Regions from separate parts of the Homo sapiens genome. Here region 2 is linked to region 1. Evidence: promoter capture Hi-C in human tissues and cell types (Jung and others, 2019). All regions are on one chromosome and are shown on one strand. Each heading gives the region's core, a stretch centred on a gene start or on the middle of the fragment in contact. The rest is flanking DNA. Distances are from core to core; before and after follow the strand shown. Region 1 holds the start of TNP2 (transition protein 2). Region 2 has its middle 49 kb from the start of SOCS1.

Region 1 (5,966 bases), core at 2,573-5,072:
ACGTGTGTGAAGGCGTGTGTGTGTGGGTGCACACGGAGGGAGGCCAGCTGCCAAGGAAGGCTGAACAGCAAGGCTCGGTGACCTTGTTCCCAAGCCCCAGCCAGAGGTTGAGGGGCTTTGAGAGGGGGAAATCATCTCCGCCAAATCTTCCCATCTCTGGGACGGGAAATTCCTCTGCGAGTCCCAGCACACCCCAGCCGAGAGCATCCAGCGGGACAGGGTAACTGCCTTCATCGCAGTCCCCACTGTGCTGCCCCAACTATGGACCGTCTTTTAAGAACACTGGCTTGGGAGTTCAGCAGACCTGGGTTCAAACTTCTTTTCTGGTAGCTGCGTGCCCTTGAGCAAGTCACTGCGTGTCTTTGAGCCTCAGGCTGCCCCTCCCAGCGTTTAGGGGAAGCTAATAGCTACTCATGGGTCAGATGATCAGAAAAATTAGCTCAAGTGATGGGTGGGACCAGGCCTGGCACCAGTCAGTGCTGAGCTAGGACAGGGATTGTTGCTGGGGTCATGGTGGTTCCTCTAGGTCCTTCTTGGCTGCAGACTCTTCCACTGCCAGTCTATGCTGCTGGCAACCACCTGCACCCCTACCTGGAAGCTCACTCCCGCCTTCTTCAAGGGGTCTAGCCCTGGGGGCGGAGACAGTACCCCATGAGAGCAGTAGGCAAAAGAGGCCCAGGGAGGCGACTGGGTACAGACACAGAACCTAGGCCCCATCCTCTCGCTCTGGGCTCGGTGCGCCTTCCGCAAGGAGCTTCGGAGTGCGTCTGCTGCCCACCCTACTGCCGGCTCCTCCCTCACTCCTTCCATCCCAAAGAAGCCACAAATGCGATCTCCACCACATTCCCTCACAGTCCTCCAAGCACCAGCCACCTTGAGCTAATTCTCTGGATCAGCTGATCCCCTGTTCCCGAGGGGATCCTAGTTGGTACCGTGGCAGTGGGGCTGGGGGATGGGGAATTTTCAGGGAAGCCTCGGTTTCTCTGGGGGCCATGTTTGACGTAGGAAGGAGCCTTGGGCTACCCTGTGGGGAGGCCACGGCTCTGCCCGGCAATGGCCTAGGGCAAGGGAGGCCCTGTTATCCCACTACTCCCAGACCCACAAATGACTCGGTTGGTCAGCCTTGTCCTTTTGTCCAAGGCCCAAAGGTCCACCCACCCATTCATTTGCCCAGGAAACATGAGCTGAGTCCCTGTTGTATGCCCCACATGGTGCTAGTCACAAGGAGCCCTGGTAATAAAACATAGTCCCCGCTGTCCTGGGAGAGAGTTCACTGTCATGGGTGCGGGGGCAGGTACGTGACGTGCCGCACACCCGCTGCTGGGAGAGGTCAGCCCTCCCTGGGAGGACTGGAAAGGTGTGTGGAGGAGAGGCTGGTTGATGGCAGGCCACGATCTCCATTCCAGGCTATGTGCTTCAGGATGGGAAAGTGGGGCGTTGGCAGTGGAGGAGCAGGAGACCATGGGAAGGGGGGTCCAGAGACCCAGAGAGTCTTCACGGCTTGGTCTAGCATATACCCCACAACCGGACCTGCTGAGGCCACCCAAGGCAGGGCCCTGAGAACCCTGCTGCAGCTGTCCCTCTAATCGCCGAGAATCCCTTAGTGACCTCGAGAGGAGGCCAGACCTGAATATGACTGGCTCTGCCGTGATCGGCTAAGGGACTCTGGGCTGGTTACTCCACCTCTCTGAGCCTGTTCCCTCTTTGCTAAATGTAATCATAGTATCTGCCTCATGGGGTGCATAAGTTTCTTGGGGCTGCCATACCAAATGACCACAAACTTGGTGGCTAAAACAACAGAAATGTATTCTCTGCAGTTCTGGAGGCCAGAAGTCTGAAGTCGAGGTGCCAGCTGGGCTGATCTCCCTCCGGAGGCCTTAGCAGAGAATCCTTCCTTGCCTCCTCTAGCTCATACAACTCCAAGCTCGTCTCCATCTTCCCATGGTTTCCTCTTCTCCCTGGGTGACACCTCTTCTGTCTCTCATAAAGACATTTATCATTGGATTTAGGGCCCACCAGCTAAGCCAACATGCTTATCTCAAGATTCTTAGCTTAATTACATCTGCAAAGACCCCTTTTCCAAATATCACATTGACAAGTTCTAGGAGTTATAACGTGGACATAGATTTTTGGGGGTTGCCATTCATTCCACTACAAAGGGTCACTGTGAGGTTTGAGGGCAAAGCTGCCTGGAGAGGGTAAGGTCCAGAGCCCAGCCACATAGAAAGCATTCAGTAAATGAAAGCAGTTCTCACTGTAAGAAATTTGAAATGTTTATTAAGAAATAAACTGCAAAGGCTGGGCATATTGGCTCATGCCTGTAGTGCCAGCACTTTGGGAGGCCAAAGCAGGAGAAAACCTTGAGCTCATGAGTTCAAGACCCACCTAAGCAACAAAGTGAGACCCCATCTCTACAAAAATAAAAATAAAAAAATTAGACAGGTGTGGTGGCATGCACCTGTAGTCACAGCTACTTGGGAGGCTGAGGTGGGAGGATCGTTTGAGTCCAGGAGGTGGAGGCTGCAGTGAGCTGTAATTGTGCCACTGCACTCTAGCCTAGGCAACACAGCAAAACCCTTTCTCAAAAGAAAAAGAAAAAGAAAAAAACTTCCATAAAAGCAGACGATTGCAAATCCTCATAGCAAGAGGCAAAGTTGCACATGGGCAGAGTGAGAGGTTGGCTTGGGCCGGAGGCCTGCTCGGGGAGGACAGACAGAGACAGAGGAAGTTCCATGCAGAGAGAAGTGGGAAAGTACAGGGCCAAGGGCTAAGCCCAAAGGCATCGGCCAAGACAGGGAGGGGTGGAGGGCTCTGGATGGAAACCCAAAGACTAGAAGATCAAATGGCTTAGTGTTCAAACATAAGTCTGGGCTTTCTTCTAGAGGTACTGGGGTATCTGAGCAGGGACGGCGTGATTCAAACGGTATGGCGAGGCTTCGTTAGCAGGAAGGGGAGGAGAATCAAGAGGCAGAAACTGAAGGAGAGAGACGGGTTTCCAAGGGCCTCCTGTAGCTTGACAGGCATCTCAGGCTCACGAGAATACCAGGAAAGAAGGAAAGACACCCCTTTGTCACATACGGCAATTAAGCCTCAGAAACCACAATGGCCTACCCAAGACTGGACATCAGTGCAAACTGGGATTTGAACCCGGCTCTGAATTTCCCGACTTTAGATCTGGCTGGGGAGGTAGGCTTGCCAAGCGAGCCCCAGGACCACCCCTTGGTCCATGTGGTTACTCATCTTTCATCCATCCACCAAGCCATCTGACCAATTCATCACCTCCCCATCATCTGGGCACTAATCATCTGTCTTAACAACTGCCCACCATTCAGCTGCCATCACCAGGGTCAGGGCTGCACTCCTGGTACCCAAGTTGCCCAGGGCGTTAAGAAAAACACCTGATGATGCTGGTCAGTGATGTTTACTGAGCTCTTATTGTGGGCTGGGCCTGAGCTAACTGCTTGATATAAATTCTCTCCTTTATTAATAATTCTTCTAATGTCCGAATGAGGTCAGTACAATTATTATCCCTATTCTGCAGAGATGGGGAAACTGGGACTTGTTCAGGCGAATTCCCAGGGCTGACCATGTGGAAAAAGCAGATCTGGGATGCAGACTCAGCTTAATCTGACCCAAGGGCTCCTACCCTGAACCAGTAGCTGGGACTATCCCCAGGGTACCCCTGAGAGCTGCCCCAGCCTGGGGGTGAGGGTAAGGGGTAGGGGGCTTTGTCTTGGCTGAGCCACATCTCTCACACCCCTGTGGCCTGGGCCATCATAATCAGCCCCAACTATATAACCAGGTGGGCTGCCAGGGCCTCTGTAAAGCTAGGCCTGCTGGGAGAGGATGAGGAGGAGGCCCTGCCCCTCCAAACGTGGCCTCCTATGGACACCCAGACTCACAGCCTTCCTATCACCCACACTCAGCTCCATAGCAACTCTCAGCCCCAAAGCCGCACCTGCACCCGCCATTGCCAAACCTTCAGCCAGAGTTGCAGACAGAGCCATCGTGGCAGCCGGAGCCAGAGCTCCAGCCAGAGCCCGGCCAGCCACCGCAACCCAACTGGAGCCCACAGCTCATCCGGCCACCAGAGCCAGAGTCCCAACACTAGTCCACCACCAAAGCGCCACAAAAAGACTATGAACTCCCACCACTCTCCCATGCGGCCCACCATCCTGCACTGCCGCTGCCCCAAGAACAGAAAGAACTTGGAAGGCAAGCTGAAAAAGAAAAAAATGGCCAAGAGGATCCAGCAGGTGTACAAAACCAAGACGCGGAGCTCAGGTACCCTTTAAGGAGGTGGGGAAGGGCCACCGAGCCCACAGATGATGGAGAGCAGACCTTGGGGGCAGTGAGAGGAAGGCTGCAGCCAGGTCACAAAGGAACCACAGGCAAGAAGGAAGAGGGAGAAGAGAAACAATGGCAGTTGGCTAGCTGAATGTATGATACATTGACGGAAAGTCTCTTTGAAATTGGATGGGTTGATTAGGAGGATGGAAAGATGGACAGATAGCAGATAAGCTAGATGAAAGCATGAATGGAGTTGAGAGGTTGGGTGGATGACTGGGTGGGTAAACAATAAATAGGTTATAGAAAGGATAGTTGGAAGAATGCATTGGCTGAATGATAGGAAGTTTGGATACGATTAGCTGGATGGATGGATAAATGGATGAATGCACTGGCTGGCTAGTTATTTGGTTGGTTAGGTAGATGATCAGTTTGAAGATTGTGGTTGGTGGATGAATTGGTTAGAAATAGAGTTAAATAGTTGTAGAAGTTTTGATGGGTTGGTTTGATTGGTTAAATATTATCTTAATAGAGTAATATAGAGTAATTGAATAAACAGAGAGAAGAATAGATATCTAGACTAATGGGATAGAATGGGAAAGAAATGTTGAATAAATGAATGGAATGAGTGAACTAATGAATGGGTGGATGACAAATGGAAGGGATAAATGGATGGATACCTGGATTCACATAGGTCAAAAGGACACTGACGGTAGTCTAAACTCTATCTATGTCCCATATTCAATCACAAATGAGTAGTTGTAAGACCTTACAGGAGGTCAAGGAGGTCACTGACTTCATGAAGTGCTCAGCTATTAAAGGTTCCTTTCCCACTCTTATCCCTTAGGATGGAAATCCAACTAATGAGACCGCACTCCTTGGCTTGTTCCTGCGTGTTTCACCCAAAGGAGAAAATGCTAGGATGAAGTCAATCTTCTTGCAGGAACATGTTACTATGGTGATTTCTACGCAACACTAATTAAAGCTTGTACCTGGAAGACTATCCCTGAGTAGTCATAGTCATTTTGATTTCACTAATAAAGGTGTTATGTGTTTTGGGGGCCTGCACAGGGGCAGAAATGAATGGGGGTAGGATGCCAAGAAGCCTGCAGAGTCCACTCTGCTTGGATAACAATCTTTTGCCCTGTATGCTCCCACATGGGTGTGTACACATGTGGACACACAAGATGCACACATGTCCACAACCTATTCACGTGATCCACATGTATGTAGCCCAAGAACACGACAGGAGACAGGAAGAGGGGTTCAGAATGTGCCTTTTGCAATCCAGAGCATCCTGAGTTTGAATCCTGGCTCATCTTTCGTACTCGCTGTGTGACCCTGGACTGTGACCAACCTCTGAGTCTCACTTGTTGATTCTGTAACATAGTACCAACCTCAACGTTCCTCAAAGCAGCCATTTCAACAAACTTTTACTAAGGGACCAAAGTCTGTTCAGGGACTGTGCTGGGCTCTGGGAACAGAACTAGAGAACACACAAGGCCCTGCCCTCATGGAACTTACAGTCCAAACACACAAGACTTGTCAGAATGAGCTGTATCAAGGGAGCAGGGTGATGTCATGTCCCCGTGAGGGAATGAGCCTGGGTTAGAACCTGTGTTCCAGAGGAGCTGGCATAGAATCTGAAGGTGCTGGGACATGAGCTGGGGGCACCAGGT
Region 2 (6,687 bases), core at 3,832-6,331, 64 kb after region 1:
CCTCCTGAGTAGTTGGGATTACAGGTGCCCACCACTACACCTGGCTAAGTTTTGTATTTTTAGTAGAGATGGGGTTTCACCATATTGGCCAGGCTGGTCTTGAACTCCTTACCTTAAGTGATCTACCCACCTCGGCCTCCCAAAGTGCTGGGATTACAGGCATGAGCCACTGCACCCAGCTTGTGTTCCCCATTTACGGAGGAGGAAATGAAACGCGGTGAGGCGAGGAAGCAGACAAAGACAGAGCCCACTGGAGCCCTGGGCCCCTCACTCAGCTTTTAAATTGTGTGATTTGGAGGAAGAAGAAAATCAAGTACCTTGTGCAACTCTGTGTCCCAAGTTTTCATCCCTAAAATGACCCCACAGGACGGTTTCAGGATATTCTTCTGCGCCCGAGGGATGAGGTTCAGGGGACTCTGGGGGATGAGGCTGGTGCTGTTTGGGGTGCAGGGGTGAGCCCCTGAAGCAGCATCCATCCACTGCTTCCTGTGGCCAAGCTCCTTGCCCAGGGAACTCCCGGGCTGGCAGGAGGTGGCCGGGTGCCCTGTGTCTCCTTTCCCCATTTTCCCAGTCCTGTTGACTTTTCCTCCAGACCCCAGCTGTCCCATCTGAGTCCTTCTTTCTGTCTAGACAGAGGTGGCCCTGGCTGTGCCTCTCCTTTGGAACCCATGGCCCGAGGGGCGTGCTTGGCAGTGGTATGGAGTTGACAGACCTGCTTTCTATTCCTTTTTTTTTTTTTTGAGATGAGTCTTGCTCTGTTGCCCAGGCTGGAATGCAGCAGTGATCTTGGCTCACTGCAACCTATGCCTCCCGGGCTCAAGCAATCTTCTTGCCTCAGCCTGAGTAGCTGGGACTATAGGCACCCGCCACCATGCCAAGCTAATTATTGTATTTTTAGTAGAGATGGGGGTTTCACCATGTTGGCCAGGCTGGTCTCAAACTCCTGACCTCAGGAGATCTCCCTGCCTTGGCCTCCCAAATTGTTGGGATTGCAGGCGTGAGCCACTCAGCCCAGCCCTGTTTTCCATTTCTGAATCACATCTGCAAGTCTGGGTCAGCTTAGCTGGGAGGCAAGGGCACAAAGTCGGCCCTGGTGGGGAAACCCTGAGAACGAATCAGGGCTGTCCAAGTGTGAGGCAAGTGACATGTCCAGGCAGTCATGAAATTCCAACCTCACTTCCTCTTTTTTTTTTTTTTTTTTAGAGACAGGCTTTCACTCTGTTGCCCAGGCTAGAGCACAGCAGCACAGCCTTGGCTCACTGCAGCCTCGAACTCCTGGGCTCACGGGATTCACCTGCCTCAGCCTCCTGAGTAGCTGGGACTACAGGTGTATACACCACCACACCCAGCTAATATTTTAGCTTTTGTAGAGACAGGGTCTCATTATGTTGCCCAGGCTGGTCTCAAACTCCTGGGCTCAAGCGATCCTTCCACCTCAGCCTCCCGAAGTACCAGGATTACAGGCATCAGCCACCATGCTCAGCTCAACCCCACTTTCTTACGATCATGGTAGGTCACCCAAGCCTTCAATGGCTCCCCAGGGCCAGTCACACTGAATCCCAGGTCTGCCCTTGCTCATTGCCACTGCCTTGATCTTCTTTCTGGCCTCCAGGACTGTCTGCTGGGACCATTGCCGTAGTCTTTTGCCTGGTCCCCTACTCTCCCAGTCTTGCCCCATCTGGTCTAGCTTTTCCTCCTAGCAGCAGACTGAGCTTTCTGGAACCCAAATCTGACCACGTCCCACCTCCACTTACAGTATGTCACTGGGTCCCACTGCCCGCAGGCTGGCATCCAAGCTTGCTCTCGCCCTGGCATTCAGGATCAGCTGCCTTGGATCTACCCCCTGCCAACAGGTCCCCACCGAACCCCACAATCTGACCCAGATGAGCCATCATCCCCAACACTCCCTGTCGTGTCCCGGAAGCCTGACCTTGACCCTGGTCAGCTGTTTCCCACACCCCGAATGCACTTGCTGTCCTTCCCATCAACATGGGCTCCTCCTTCAAGGTTGGTCCGAGTGGTTGCCCCCAAGAGGGGCCTCCAGGATTCTTAGTGACAAGTGACAGAATCCAAATGTGGCTCATTCAAGCAGAAGAAAAGGTATTAAACAGATATTGGGGTATGCAAAACTCCCAGGAAGGCAGGAGGATCCCATGGAAAAGGGGAGGCAAGACGTCACCCCTATTCCTACCACAGAGCCAGCCTGGTGAAGTCCTCCTTCTTCACAGCTGCCAGGAACTCCATGTGGCCCAGGCTCCCCCCAGAAAGAGTCCTGGACAGGACAAGCCTCCAATTCAAACTCCAGAGCAGGTGCCTCTGATTGGCAGAGTCCAGTCACATGCCATGCCCTAGCTGCAAGGGAGGCAGGGAAAGTGGGTGTGGACTATTTGGGCTCCTCCCATGGAAGGCGGGCTCTACTTGCCCATTGTCCTATGTGGGAGGAGTTTCCTAACTCTGGGGTGGGAGTTCAGAGAGTTAGGGCTCATAGACTAAGGCTCTGTGCCTCCCCAAACCTCAGCATTCCCCATCTCAGGAGAGGCACAGTCGAATATCTGGTCACTCAGTCCTTGACACAGCCCTCTGCTGCACCCCAAGTCCACAGGTTCGACTTCCTGCGTGTGTCTTGCACCCATGGGCATTTCCACATCTCTGCCTCCTTCTCTGTGCAAGCTTCCGTGATGAGTCTCCCATGCAGTGGAGGAGACAGGCACTAAAATCATGAGGACAGCCCAGTGTGATACATGCTGTGATGGGGACATGCAGGGAGCCTAGAGGAGGCACCTGGTCCAGCTGCGGGCATCTGGGAAGGCTTCCTGGAGGTGACACTGCTGAGTGTTGGAGAAAAAATAGGAATTATAGAAACAAAGGTGTTAGGCCTTGTGCAGTGGCTCACAACTGTAATCCTAGCAGTCTGGGAGGCCAAGGTGGGCGGATCACAAGGTCAGGAGTTCGAGACCAACCTGGCCAACATGGCGAGACCCCATCTCTACTAAAAATACAAAAATTAGCTGAGCGTGGTGTACATGCCTGTAATCCCAGCTACTTGGGACGCTGAGGCACAAGAATTGCTTGAACCCAGGAGGCAGAGGCTGCAGTGAGCTGAGATCGTGCCACTGCACTCCAGCCTGGGTGACAGAGTGAGACTCGGTCTCAGAAAAAAAAAATAAAGAGAGAAAGAAAGGTGTTGGAGGCATCCTCTCAGGCTGAGGCAACAGCTTTGCAAAGCCACAGAGGTGCAAGGGGGAATTCCAAGGAGTTCTGGCATCACCAGGGGTAATGTGTGAGGCAGAGTTGTCAAGAGATGAGACCACTCAGGGTGGAAGGTACCCAATCACTGCTGGCTTATGAGGCCTGGCTTTGAGTGAGGGCTAGGTGCCAGGGCAGGGGAGTGGCATGGTCAGATGTGAGCTGAGAACGACCCCTAGGAGAGGCTGACCTGGGGAGCAGCCAGGGGTGTGACAGGACTGTGGGGAGCAGGAGAGGGACTTGACCTGGAAGACTCAGCTGGCTTCTGGGGGCAAGCAGAAGTTTGCCACTGCTGCTGCGGCATGTCTGGGCGAGGCAGAGAGACGTGGGCAAGTCCCTGGCCCAGTCTGGTGTCCTCAGTTTCCTTATGTGTAAAGAGAAGGGTGTGGTGATCTCCAGGCCAGGGGCTGAGAGCCATTGAGGCCACCCACTTCCTGGTCCTGTCCGCCCCACTCCCACGATGTACCAGGAGCTGGGGATGCAGTGACAAGAAGTGGAAGCCACAGCCCAGCTCTCATGGGCAGTGGGTCCGGGAGTGGACATGCAGTGATGACCTAGGTCTGGGCTGAAGAAGCTTTTCCCAGCAGTATGTAGCCCAGCACGCAGGAGAGATGCACCAGGAAAGGGATCTTAGCCGTTGACAACTGCCCTCCCATAGCAGCCCCACTGGGGCCAGGTTTCTTGGGACAATCAATGCCATCATTCCGGGAAGCCTACCCCAGGAGAGGCCCTGATTTCCCCCCATTTGCATAGCCACAGTAACAGGAAACAGGACTCACATTGCCTCATCAGTGCGGGCTGGGCCAGGCCAGGCCAGCTCAGGGCTCAGCTTGGATGTCCCAGCCTGGGCTGCCTCCTGGACAGCTGGCAGAAGCCCCATCTGGGCACTCCATCCGGTGGTGGCCAGACAGGTGGCCCGGGAGCTCCAAGGCTGTCCCCAGGCCCACCTGGATGTCCGACATGAAGGCTCCAAGCAGCTCAGCAGCATCCCCTGGGAAGGAAGGGGGGCTGTCAACAGTGACAGCTGGGTGCTCTATTGGGGTCAAAGTGCGCCGAGTTACTGCCAAGCTATCCTGGTTCCCAGAAATGATGTGTAGAACTTCCTGCCGCAAGGAGTGTGGCTATCTGCTACCTGGCCCCCCTCCATCCTCTCCCAGTTTCCCCCAGCTCCCTTCCAGAAAGCCAGGCTTTCAGCAGGAAGAGTGTTTCTCGGATGCCGTTCACTGGGTGCTGGGTGTGACCCAAGGCTCCACGTGCTGAGCTGGGTCCAGAAACCAGGAGTTTGGGGTGCAGAGAAGGGGCAAGCTTGAGTTTAGCCTCATCAGAGCCAGGTGCCCCTGGAGCCCTGGACCTCATGGGCCTCAGTCCTCCCACATCTGCCATGGGGATACTTGTGACTACCTCTCAGCGTTGACAGGAGGCACTAAAAGGGAAGGCGCTGTAGCAGTGCTGGTGACTGCGATACTAGCGCTCACGTCTGCCTTAGTCCCAGTGCTCCGGCCGCGTTGGGGCAGCTATTGAAAGAGAAGCCAGATTTCAACATTATATGAAGAGACAATGTGGTGGAAGTTTAGCCCTGTCCAAGATACCCTGTGGACACAGCCTGACCTGGGTTCGGATCTTGACTGTGCCACTTGCTGGCCGTATGACCCAGGGTGAGCTCCTCAGCTTCCCTGAAGCTCAGTTTCTGCATCTGTAGAATGGGAATGAATAGCGATGTCCATCCGTTAGGGCTATGGTAAGGAGTCGATGAGACACCACATGAAAGGGACCCGATAAAAGGGAAGGTGTGGATGACGGGGTCACGAGCCCACTGAGAGGATGTAAAGCTCAACCCTATAGCGGCTCCTGTGGCAGAGGCTGGGGTTATGGAAATAAGCCCCCGTGGCCGTGTTAAATCAACCCCCCAGAGAAGTCAGAGGCAGTGAGGAGGCAGGAAGCACTCAGTCCTAGACTAGGGATCCAGAAGACTAAGGAAGGCAAATGCCTGGCCAGTGACATCTGAGGAGGCTTCCTGGAGGAGGGGATGTCTGAGCTAGTGTCAAGGATGGACAGGTTTGGCCACCAACGTGAAAGGTCACATCCCAGGAAAGCAGCCAGCTGGGGCAAAGGCAGGGTGACCAATGTTTCTCTGCAGGCGTGGGAAGGACAAGCCACGTGGTTGAGGGATCACCCACTGCCTCCCCCACAGACCCCTGACTCCACCTCTCAGAGCCCTGAGCCTCCAGTCATGGGCACAGCCATTCTCTCTCTCACTCCAGGTCTTCAGACCCCTAGCAATGGGGATGCCCCCTTTCCTGGCATCACAGGAAAAAGTGGTGGCACATACCTGGTGGTATGGACCCTGTCCTTCTCCATGGGCCCCTGCTCTTCCTCCTCAGCATCATCGTTGCCAACATTGTAATTTGTAACTGTTTTCTGGTCATTTTTCTATGCAAATAATTTTTGAATGAACAAAATGGGGTTATGGTTTCCAAACTCTTACAACTTGCTTTTTCCTCTAAGGATACACATACCATGAGCATTTTCCCAGGGAAGCAATACTCCAAATCACCATTTTATTTTATTTATTTTATTTTGAGATGGAGTCTCATTCTGTCGCCCAGGCTGGAGTGCAGTGGTGGCTCACTGCAACCTCTGTCTCCCGGGTTCAAGCGATCCTCCTGCCTCAGCCTCCTCAGTAGCTGGGATTACAGGCATGTACCACCACGCCTGTTTTTTTTTTTTTTTGAGATGGGGTCTTGCTCTGTCGCCCAGGCTGGAGTGCAGTGGTGCAGTCTCAGCTCACTGCAAGCTCTACCTCCCGAGTTCACGCCATTCTCCTGCCTCAGCCTCCCCAGTAGCTGGGACCACAGGTGCCTGCCACCACGCTGGGCTAATTTTTTGTATTTTTAGTAGAGATGGGGTTTCACCGTGTTAGCCAGGATGGTCTCAATCTCCTGACCTTGTGGTCCGCCCACCTCAGCATCCCAAAGTTCTGGGATTACAGGCGTGAGCCACCGCGCCCGGCCTATGCCCGCCTAATTTTTGTGTGTTTAGCAGAGACAGGGTTTCACCATGTTGGCCATGCTGGTCTTGAAATCCTGACCTCAGATGATCTGCCTGCCTTAGCCTCCCAAAGTGCTGGGATTACAGGTGTGAGCCACCTCGCCTGGCCTCCAAATCACTATTTTAATGGCCCCATGGCATAGATGGACTGTCATGAATTTAACCAAGTCTGTAATCTCAGCAAACATTTCTTCAGGAGGGTAAGATGTGTGCAGCCAAGAGTACAAGGGTCCAGAGTCCTTCGGTTTGGTTTCTGACTCCACTTTTTTGTGTTTAAAGAGATGGGGGTCTCACTATGTTGCCCAGGCTGACCTCGAACTCCTGGGCTCAACTGATCCTCCTGCCTTGGCCTCTGGAGTAGGTGACTCTACTTCTTAGAGCTGTGTGACTCTG

Evidence for each region. Contacts are between HindIII fragments. The study calls those that stand out against the background at their distance.
Region 2: a contact is called between a fragment that was not itself captured here and the fragment with the promoter of TNP2 in region 1, in 2 of the 25 tissues and cell types used here (liver and thymus).

The regions. Positions count from the first base shown.
Region 1 is chr16:11,267,181-11,273,146 of GRCh38, reverse strand. TNP2 (transition protein 2) reads left to right here and starts at 3,822. Exons shown (of 2, transcript NM_005425.5): 1 at 3,822-4,284; 2 at 5,135-5,290. The coding sequence starts at 3,885. The coding sequence ends at 5,151. All of the region lies in intron 1 of LOC105371082 (a long non-coding RNA gene), which reads right to left. RefSeq lists an enhancer at 437-1,133. The HindIII fragment of the contact is 5,287 bases long and covers 1,385-5,966 here.
Region 2 is chr16:11,203,520-11,210,206 of GRCh38, reverse strand. No RefSeq gene overlaps it. Among named protein-coding and RNA genes, the nearest start is that of SOCS1, 49 kb to the left of the region's middle. RefSeq lists enhancers at 1,146-1,215, 3,399-3,468, 3,479-3,568, 3,889-4,028. The HindIII fragment of the contact is 3,672 bases long and covers 3,246-6,687 here.